3 separate regions of the Homo sapiens genome follow, and all the other regions are linked to region 3. The links are contacts of gene promoters, found by promoter capture Hi-C in blood cells and fetal thymus (Javierre and others, 2016). All regions are on one chromosome and are shown on one strand. Each heading gives the region's core, a stretch centred on a gene start or on the middle of the fragment in contact. The rest is flanking DNA. Distances are from core to core; before and after follow the strand shown. Region 1 overlaps TMOD2 (tropomodulin 2). Region 2 overlaps TMOD3 (tropomodulin 3). Region 3 holds the start of DMXL2 (Dmx like 2).

The links. The method cuts DNA at HindIII sites, captures the fragments that hold promoters and counts their contacts. A CHiCAGO score of 5 or more calls a contact.
Region 1: a contact is called between a fragment that was not itself captured here and the fragment with the promoter of DMXL2 in region 3, in 1 of 17 cell types (neutrophils). The highest score is 5.5, in neutrophils.
Region 2: a contact is called between a fragment that was not itself captured here and the fragment with the promoter of DMXL2 in region 3, in 1 of 17 cell types (M1 macrophages). The highest score is 5.9, in M1 macrophages.

Annotation. Positions count from the first base shown.
Region 1 is chr15:51,812,485-51,815,184 of GRCh38, forward strand. It overlaps TMOD2 (tropomodulin 2), which reads left to right. Exons shown (of 10, transcript NM_014548.4): 10 at 1-2,700. Among named protein-coding and RNA genes, the nearest start is that of TMOD3, 16 kb to the right of the region's middle. The HindIII fragment of the contact is 2,004 bases long and covers 280-2,283 here.
Region 2 is chr15:51,840,870-51,843,569 of GRCh38, forward strand. All of the region lies in intron 1 of TMOD3 (tropomodulin 3), which reads left to right. Among named protein-coding and RNA genes, the nearest start is that of TMOD3, 13 kb to the left of the region's middle. The HindIII fragment of the contact is 1,317 bases long and covers 699-2,015 here.
Region 3 is chr15:51,621,456-51,624,155 of GRCh38, forward strand. DMXL2 (Dmx like 2) reads right to left here and starts at 1,316. Exons shown (of 44, transcript NM_001378457.1): 1 at 1,004-1,316. The coding sequence starts at 1,090. RefSeq lists an enhancer at 454-863 and a silencer at 1,234-1,453. The HindIII fragment of the contact is 5,213 bases long and covers 1-2,700 here.

The DNA of each region.
Region 1 (2,700 bases), core at 32-2,531, 190 kb after region 3:
TTCTTCACAGATATGATGTACTCAGCCCCCTCCTAGGCACTACGAAGAAGACAGAGGAAGCATAAAAATTCTGGACTAATATAATTTTATATGTGTTTCTGAGATTGGGGAGTAGACTGAGTGCCTTTTTTACAAAGAAGATCCCATATTTAATTCAAGTATTTATAGCATCAGCAAAAATGGGCAGAGGGCGGGAAGTTGAGAACACTAGGTTCTGTGCTATGTTACCTGTATTCAGTAGAAGTGTTTCTGGAGTCAGGTTTTAAGTCATGATCCTGAAGCTTCCTTCCCCTCTTCCACTAATGATGCAATAATAGCTGTTTTCATTTTAACGAGCAGAGAACTAAGAGGAAAGGTCCTAGCTCTGCCTTCCACTTGCAGCTTCCCTTTACCTCCTCTTATTGCTTTCATCTCAAATATCCCTGCTACTCAACCAATCCTAAAGCTAAAGTACTGAGATGCACACAAAGGAAAGGTGTGAGAGTGCTTGGAAGCATCCAGCTGAGCCCACTGGATGAAAATCAGACGATAGGGCCTCCTGTTGTAATATACTAGCCAGAGAAAAGCGCCAAGAACTTCAGGGATATTATTCACTGCTTTATTGCTCCCTAACCCTAGATCAGATTGGATTTTACTTTGTAGTTCAGGAGTTAAGAAGTCAAATTGCTGACCGAGGTGGGGAAGGATGATGGAAATTAAAGGTTTACATTTGTTTAATGGCAGAACTGAGATTTGCTCAGCTTATCTCTTTCCCATCTGTCTGTAATAGCAATGACTGAATAATCAGTAGACCAATGGAAGAGGAGTTGCAAGTTTAAATTTGTAACCTGACTCTGGGTTCTGTTCTAGGAATAGTGCATGTTTTAGAGGCTTTGCCAGTTGGGATACATTGTTGACTTGGGGGAGGATGAAGGAGAGAACTGATGACCTAGACATAGAAAAGAGTAGTTAACTAACTAGATGTTCTTCTGATCTCTTCCATGGTAGACATTCTGAGCACATTGGCCCAGTTAGTTGGTATGGTGAAGGGGCACCGTACTAACAGATTTGGAGACTGAAACCTAATCCCATCACCAACACTTAGCAGGTATATGATCATGGGCAATTCATTCAATTGCCTGCCAATTATAGACTATATAGGGGGAAGAGCACTGGATTTGGAGTCAAGAAACCTGGACACTTGGCTCCACACTTCCTTAGCTGGGTAACTTTGGGCAAACCGCTTGGTCTCTCAAGCCTAAGGTTCTTCAGCTATAAAATGGGAATAATACTTCACTAACTACCTCACAGAGTTGTGGTAAGAATATAATCAGATAACTGGATAAAAACACTATATAAACTGGAAAGCGCCGTACAAATGTGAGAGATCAGTTTTATTATCAAATCACTGTTTTCCACTGCCTCTTGAATCGGCTTTATTCTAACCAACCATTACATCTTTCTCATCTTTTGGAGTATGGGTAATTGAGGCTTGGGTGTGTCATCAGGGACTGGAGTTATTTCAGCTCCCATGTAGAGGTGGGAGAGGTGGTTGATGGGGCAGTGGAAGTTAGATACCAGCGATGTATATGGTAGGACATTTTCCTGGGTCACTTTGACAGTACCTTGGGAAATTGTCAGTCCTTGCAGAGGGCCTAGGCTGGGCACAAGGGAGAAAGCGAACAGTTGACTAAGAATTGAGGGGAGGGTCTGGAGCGCTACTGCCCTCCTGTCATTGCTGTGGGTGGGAGAGGCTAAGACTTCAGGTTTGACTGGAGGCCTAGGAGAGAAGAGTGTCCTTAGGGTTTCAAGAATTTTAATGCCTAGCAGCTGAGTAACAGGCATTAGTTCTGATAGATAGTGAAGGGGAGAAAGTGCCACCTGTTGTGAGATCACCTCTCCAGGGCAGCAGCTGCCTTGTTATCACCAGCAACCTTAGCCCTGGTCAGTAATATTTCTGCTAAGAAAGGTTTTGAAGCATGGCCTCCAATGACTTTCATAAGCCCTTGGAGGCAGGACTGTGTCTCATCCATCTTTGTATCTTCAGTACCATCTTGTAAGGTGCCTTGTACATAGTAGGTGCTTAATGAACAAATGTTGCTTGAATTTAGCTGTCGTCCAGCCCCACAGAGTTATGCTCCATTTGCCACCATGTGATATTTTTGAGAAACAATAGTGATTTGGATGCCAGCTCTATGTGACTTTGGGCAAGACTCTCCATCTATCTTGTCTTCATTTCATCTGTAAAATGAAGTGAGTAGATTCAATGCTCCCTAAGGTCCCTTCCAGCTCCAATACTTGACAAGCTTGTGATTCTAAATCGTTTCCGTTGCCTCTGAACATGGGTGAGTAATGCCTCCACTGCAGCTGTTTCTCTCCAGGAGGCTTTGTTCAGAGGAGGTCTGACTATTGCACAGCCAGTTTTTTCTTCCTCTTCAGCAGTTCTTTACTGTCTTCAGAATGGTTCTGGATAAGCGGCCTTTTCTGAAAGGATATTTAAAAATATATACTATTTAGGCTGGGCCCAGTGGCTCATGCCTGTAATCCCAGCACTTTGGGAGGTGAAGGTGGGTGGATCACCTGAGGTCAGGAGTTCAAGACCAGCCTGGCCAACATGGTGAAACCCCGTCTCTACTAAAAATACAGAAATTAGCTGGGCCCTGTGGCAAGAGCCTGTTATCCCAGCTACTGGGGAGGCTGAGGCAGGAAAATCGCTTGAAC
Region 2 (2,700 bases), core at 107-2,606, 220 kb after region 3:
CTCCAGCTGTGGCTTCTTGCTATCACCTAATATCACTTAATTTACTTCTGTTAATGTGTAGTGTCTAGTATCATAAAACTAAAAACATGGCAAAAATTGAGTATTTTTTAGAGGAAGTGTGATATTGTGTAAAACGTATGGCTTTTAGGGTCAGGTTCAAATCTCACATCCACTACTGAAAAGTACATATCCTTGAGCAGGCTCTTAGCCTTTCTGAGCTTCAGTTTCTTCATCTGTAAATTGGAGATAGAACTATTTTGCAAGGTTATTATGAGGAGATGTGTATGATAAAGTGCCTGGCATATAACAGGTATACAAACAAAAATTGATTCCTTTCTTTTTCACTTCATTATAATATGATATGGGACATGATCCCTTTATTCTGAGAGACTAAAGTAAAAAATGAAAGAAATGTTTTCCTATGATGTAATTAAGATATAACCAGTTTTATTCTATCACTAAAGGTAATAATTGATAGTTGTTGTCATAAGTGTTAATTTCAGATATATTATCCTGAACTCCTGTTTTGGGTCCTTCTAAGCTCTCAGCAACCTCCTCTCTTTTCCTGCATTATTTTCTTTTACTTGTATGTGGCTCCCTTGATTTCCCTCATTTGATATTAAAGGAAAAATGTCCTTTAGCCCCCTTCTAAAGAACCTATCCCAAAGCAGACCTTATGTCCTGGAGACTGTGAACCAAGCTTCTTGGCCAATAGCAATGATTTCTAAGACTTCCCTTCTTTCATCAGTTCTGCTTTCTTCAGTTATCACCAGTCTTAAGTATTAATTTGTTTTTCTTTCTGCCTCCACCCACTCCCATTTCTTCTTTCTCTGAAACTATCCCCAATTGCCACTAGCTGTATGGTTCTCATTATTTCAGTAGTTTTTTATGGTTTGGAGTTTTTTTAATTATTATTTTGAGATGGAGTCTCATTCTGTCACACAGGCTGGAGTGCGGTGGCACGATCTTGGCTCACTGCAACCTCCGCTTCCTGTGTTCAAGCGATTCTCCTACCCCAGCTTCCTGAGTTGCTGGGATTACAGGCATGGGCCACCACGCCTGGCTAATTTTTTTTTATGTACTTGTAGTAGAGATGGGGTTTCACCATGTTGGCCAGGCTGGTCTCAAACTCCTGACCTCAAGTGATCCACCCACCTTGGCCTCCCAAAGTGCTGGGATTACAGGCGTGAGCCACTGTGCCTGGCCTGGTTTGACTTTTTATTATATGTTTGTGTGTATTTTTCAAAGGCTATATTGTGGTAGTTCTTATCATTTATAGTGAACTCTCCTGTCTTAACATCATGAGGCATTTCTGCTTCTGTGCCAGAGGTTTTGTGCCTGCTATCTTGAAACTGCCAATTAAAACCTAGTGAATACCCCTCTCCCCTTACTTTACTGGACTGCATGCTGCTTCTCCATAGGCGAATACCCTAGCTCATGTCACCAGATTACTTTTTTAAAAAACAATTTTATCAAGGCATAATTTATATACCGTCAACTTTACGTATACAGCTTGATGATACCAAATTACTTTTCCTAGCAAGCCCTCTTCAGTGCTGTCTGTGGTGTGTAAGTCATCTTGCCCTTTCTCTTTGTGTTCCAAAAATTGCTTATGGTGGGTTGTGTGGATGTTGATTGTGGCTGCTGTGTGGTTACTTACAAGTGCCCTGTCTGTTGGTTATTTTTCAGCTATTCATTCTGAATATCATAGTACTTCATTAGGCATGAGGTTTTCTACATTTAGGGCCTAAGGTCAAGGTAGTGGGGCAGTGTCATTTTCTTGAAGAATTGACTCTCTTTTGCCCTACTATTGACTGAGTTCGTGCTTTTATCCCACCTCATGAGAATTATACCCTAACTCCAGGAGTTACCAAATCTCTTTTTGAGTGGTATTACATTCCCCACCTCCCTCATGAAGTACAAAATACATTATGCAAATTTTAGGCCTTGTGCCTCTTGAAAAACCTATTGTAACTACTACTCCCTTTCAATCTGAAAATTAATCATGATAATAAAGCTTGATGTATCTCCAGGCCCCTGACGTTGATTAGAGTAATACCAGTGGTATCTCTAAGTCAGAAGTGTGCTGTGTCTCTGAAGGTGCATATAAATGCCTTCACCATGTAAGAGTGAGGCATGGTCCATTGAGGAGCATTCATTCTTACCAGCTGGGGCACCGTACTCATGACTCAGTGGTGAGCAATGGGGCTAGATGGTATGCCATACCTGGAGCACTGCTGATCTTGAGAGGAGGAAAAAGAGTAGTCAGAGTTGGAAGAGCTAGAAAGGCTTTGGAGAGGACAGACTTCAGCTAGTCTTTGAATTGTGCAGCGTGTGGATAAGATAGAGAGGTGAAATTCGGGCCTGGGGTAAAAAGGATTGTTTAAGAAGAGTGACATCATTGTGGGAAACAAATGAGGCGGCCAGCTGAAGATGAACTTTGGATATCTGTGAGGCCCTGAGGAATCTAGCCTGATTAAAGCAGAGGATTCCTAGTGATTCTTAGAGCAAGTAGGAAGGGGAGTTTTATCAAAATCACCCGAGAAACTGTCAAACTACAAACACCTAACAAGAAACATTTCTAAGTAAAGGAGTAAAATGTTAAAAGCAGTGTTTTAGGTGACTGTAGGCAAGATACAGATGTTAGAGCAGGAAAACAGGAGCTTAGAGTCAGTTTGCTTGTCTAGAGCCTGGTCTGAC
Region 3 (2,700 bases), core at 66-2,565:
ACAAAATATATTTAATAAAGGTCTGGCTGCCTACAGTTCCTTATAAGGAAGACCATGTATAAATTTCATTCTTTAAAAAAGAACTCAATTTATGGGAGTCTATCTATGAGTAAACGAAGCTCCAAGGCTTGGTTTAAACATTTCCACTCTCAAAAAGGACTGATGAGTCCAATCTCCTTGAGAAACATGTCTACTTCATCTAGCTTTTAAGGAGATTCTAAAACGTTATGTATACATACACTTTTCTCAAACAAGCACTGTTGTAAATTTTTCACATTGCCTTACTATATTAAAAAAAAGGCTACCTTACAGATTAAAATATTATCTAGGAGGATTACCAAACTACGACCTCCTGATAAATGAGACAGCTCTCCAAGCCACTGTGACTCTAACCTTTCCATTCTAAATCTTTCGGGCGCGGAGGATGAATTTTTCTATCTTTTTGTTGGAATTAAGATCCTGCATTATCAGGAGATACAGAGTCAGGCTTAAAGCCACAGACTCCAGCAGCTCCTCGCTGCCCTAGCACAGCGGGCAGGGGGAGCCAAGGCGCAGCATCGCCTCCACGCTCCGAGACCAACACCAAGTCTCTTCACCTCCACGCTCCGAGACCAACACCAAGTCTCTTCGCCTCCACGCCGAGAGCAGCTGCGAAACGGACGCTCTGGGGTTTCAGCCGCACCACCACTTTCCTCCACCGCAGACCGAAGGGCCGCCCTAGGAGGAGCCTTCTAGTCCAGTCACCTCAGGCCCGTTTGCTTGGGGTGGAGAGTGCGGTGGATTCCTAAGCCTTTCCCCTAACGGGTGATTTCCTACACCAGACGCAGGACCCACGGTCCCACGGGTCCCAGGGGGAACTAAACCCCAAGGCTGCAAAGGGGCCACGGGTGGGGCCCACCAACATCTCACAGCCTCCTGAGGAGGCGTGCGCCCTGGACAGGAGGTCCCTGCCCCCGCGTCTGGCCCCTGGTATCTTCCCCTAGGGCTCCCGGCCGCCGCTCACCGTGAAGGGGACATCCCCGACGCTGCCCACGGAGTAGCAGTTGTCTCCAGGGTTGACAGCTCCGGTGAGGACCTGATGCAGATGCATCTCCGGAGCCCGGGCTGGACAGAATGCGCGGGAGGTGCGACAAGCTCCGCGCCTGACCCTCCTCGGGCTGCGAGAGCCGTTTCCCTCTGTGCCTCCCTCGGAAACCCGCCCCGCGGAGGCTCTGGCTTAACTCCTCGCCCCCCTTTCGCCTTCCCTCCGCCTCGTCCCTGCCATGGGAGCTCCTCGACCGCCGCCGCCGCCCGGGTCGCCGCTCAGCTGCGGAAATGCCCGGATGTTCCCACTGCCTGCTGCACCGGCGCACAAATGCGGGAGGGCAAGGGTGCTTGTGAGGCGGGGGAGGGCACCGGGGGGAACGCGCGAGCCGGGAGCGTGCAGCAAGGGAGCGGGCCAGCGCGCGCGCCCACCGCGGGGGAGCGAGGTAGAGCCCTCCCCCCGCGGCAAAGCTCTCAGCTCAGTCTTTCTTCCCCCCATCACCCGCGTTTGCGCGTGCGCGCGCCGTGGTTTCCAGGGCAATTGCGCGCGCCACGCCGACCCGCCGTCCCGTGATTGCGCGCGCAGACGTGCGGGAGTTCCCTTGGAGCCTCCCGGGCTGTAGCCGCTGCGGACTGGGGCGGAGGTGGGGGCGGGGGCGAGTGGGGTGCAGGTCGCTCGGGGCCACGCAGCAGTCGGACGCCGGGGACGCGCCACGAGCCGGTTTTGCTGTGTTGAACGTATTCCAGAATACAGTGTGCAATGGTCAGTGCCGTTGACCTCAGAAGGACACCCGTCACCGGGAATTTCCACCTGGAGATATCTTAGATATCTTCAGTCTTTTCGAAAGTGCAGTACATAAGATATTTTATTTTACATAAACAATGTAGGCATCTTGCAACTATTTAGAGAAGCCATACTCCCCTGAAAGCTAATTATTTTGCTCCCACCTTTTGTCACGGTTATTCTAGACAGCAAAAAGCCGCCTTAGAGACGGGTGACTCCTTTCGACTTTTTTTCATGAGTAATTTCATGAATTAGCAGAATCGCCTGATTTTCCAAACTATCTGCTAAACTTTGAATGGTTGATAACAAGGATCATCAGCTCCCTGCCACAGGCCAATTCATGGCAAATGTTCTAACCCATACTATGCTTAAATCACAGGGTAAGGAAGTAGGGGACACCAAGACATAACTATCTGTAAAACCAGGCAGAACGCCAAAGGTGGTGTGATTGAGATATAAAAGTCTTTATGCACCACAGAAGAGGAAGAAGAATGTTGACTAAGGGCGTGGATAAGGCATTATGGAGACATAACCTGACATAAACGCTGAGTTTAATTTTGACAGGCTGAGATAGACAAGAAATGCTGCAAATACAGTACAGAAAATAGAGGGGGTGTTGAAGGTACAAAGATTAATGTTTGAGGCAGATGATTTATAGGGTAGGGAAAGTAAATAATACTTAGCAAGAGATCAAGGTATCCAAGTGGTCTAACTCTTGGCCTACCAAAACATATTATGGAGAGTCTTGAATGCTCCAAGAAGCCCAGATTTCACTCTGCATGCAGTGGGGGTATATCAGATGTTTCTGAGCAAAAATTTATATAATCAGAGCTGCTTTGGGAAGATGACTTTGTAGCATTTTGAAGCATAAAGGGAAGGGTGGGGAAGATTGG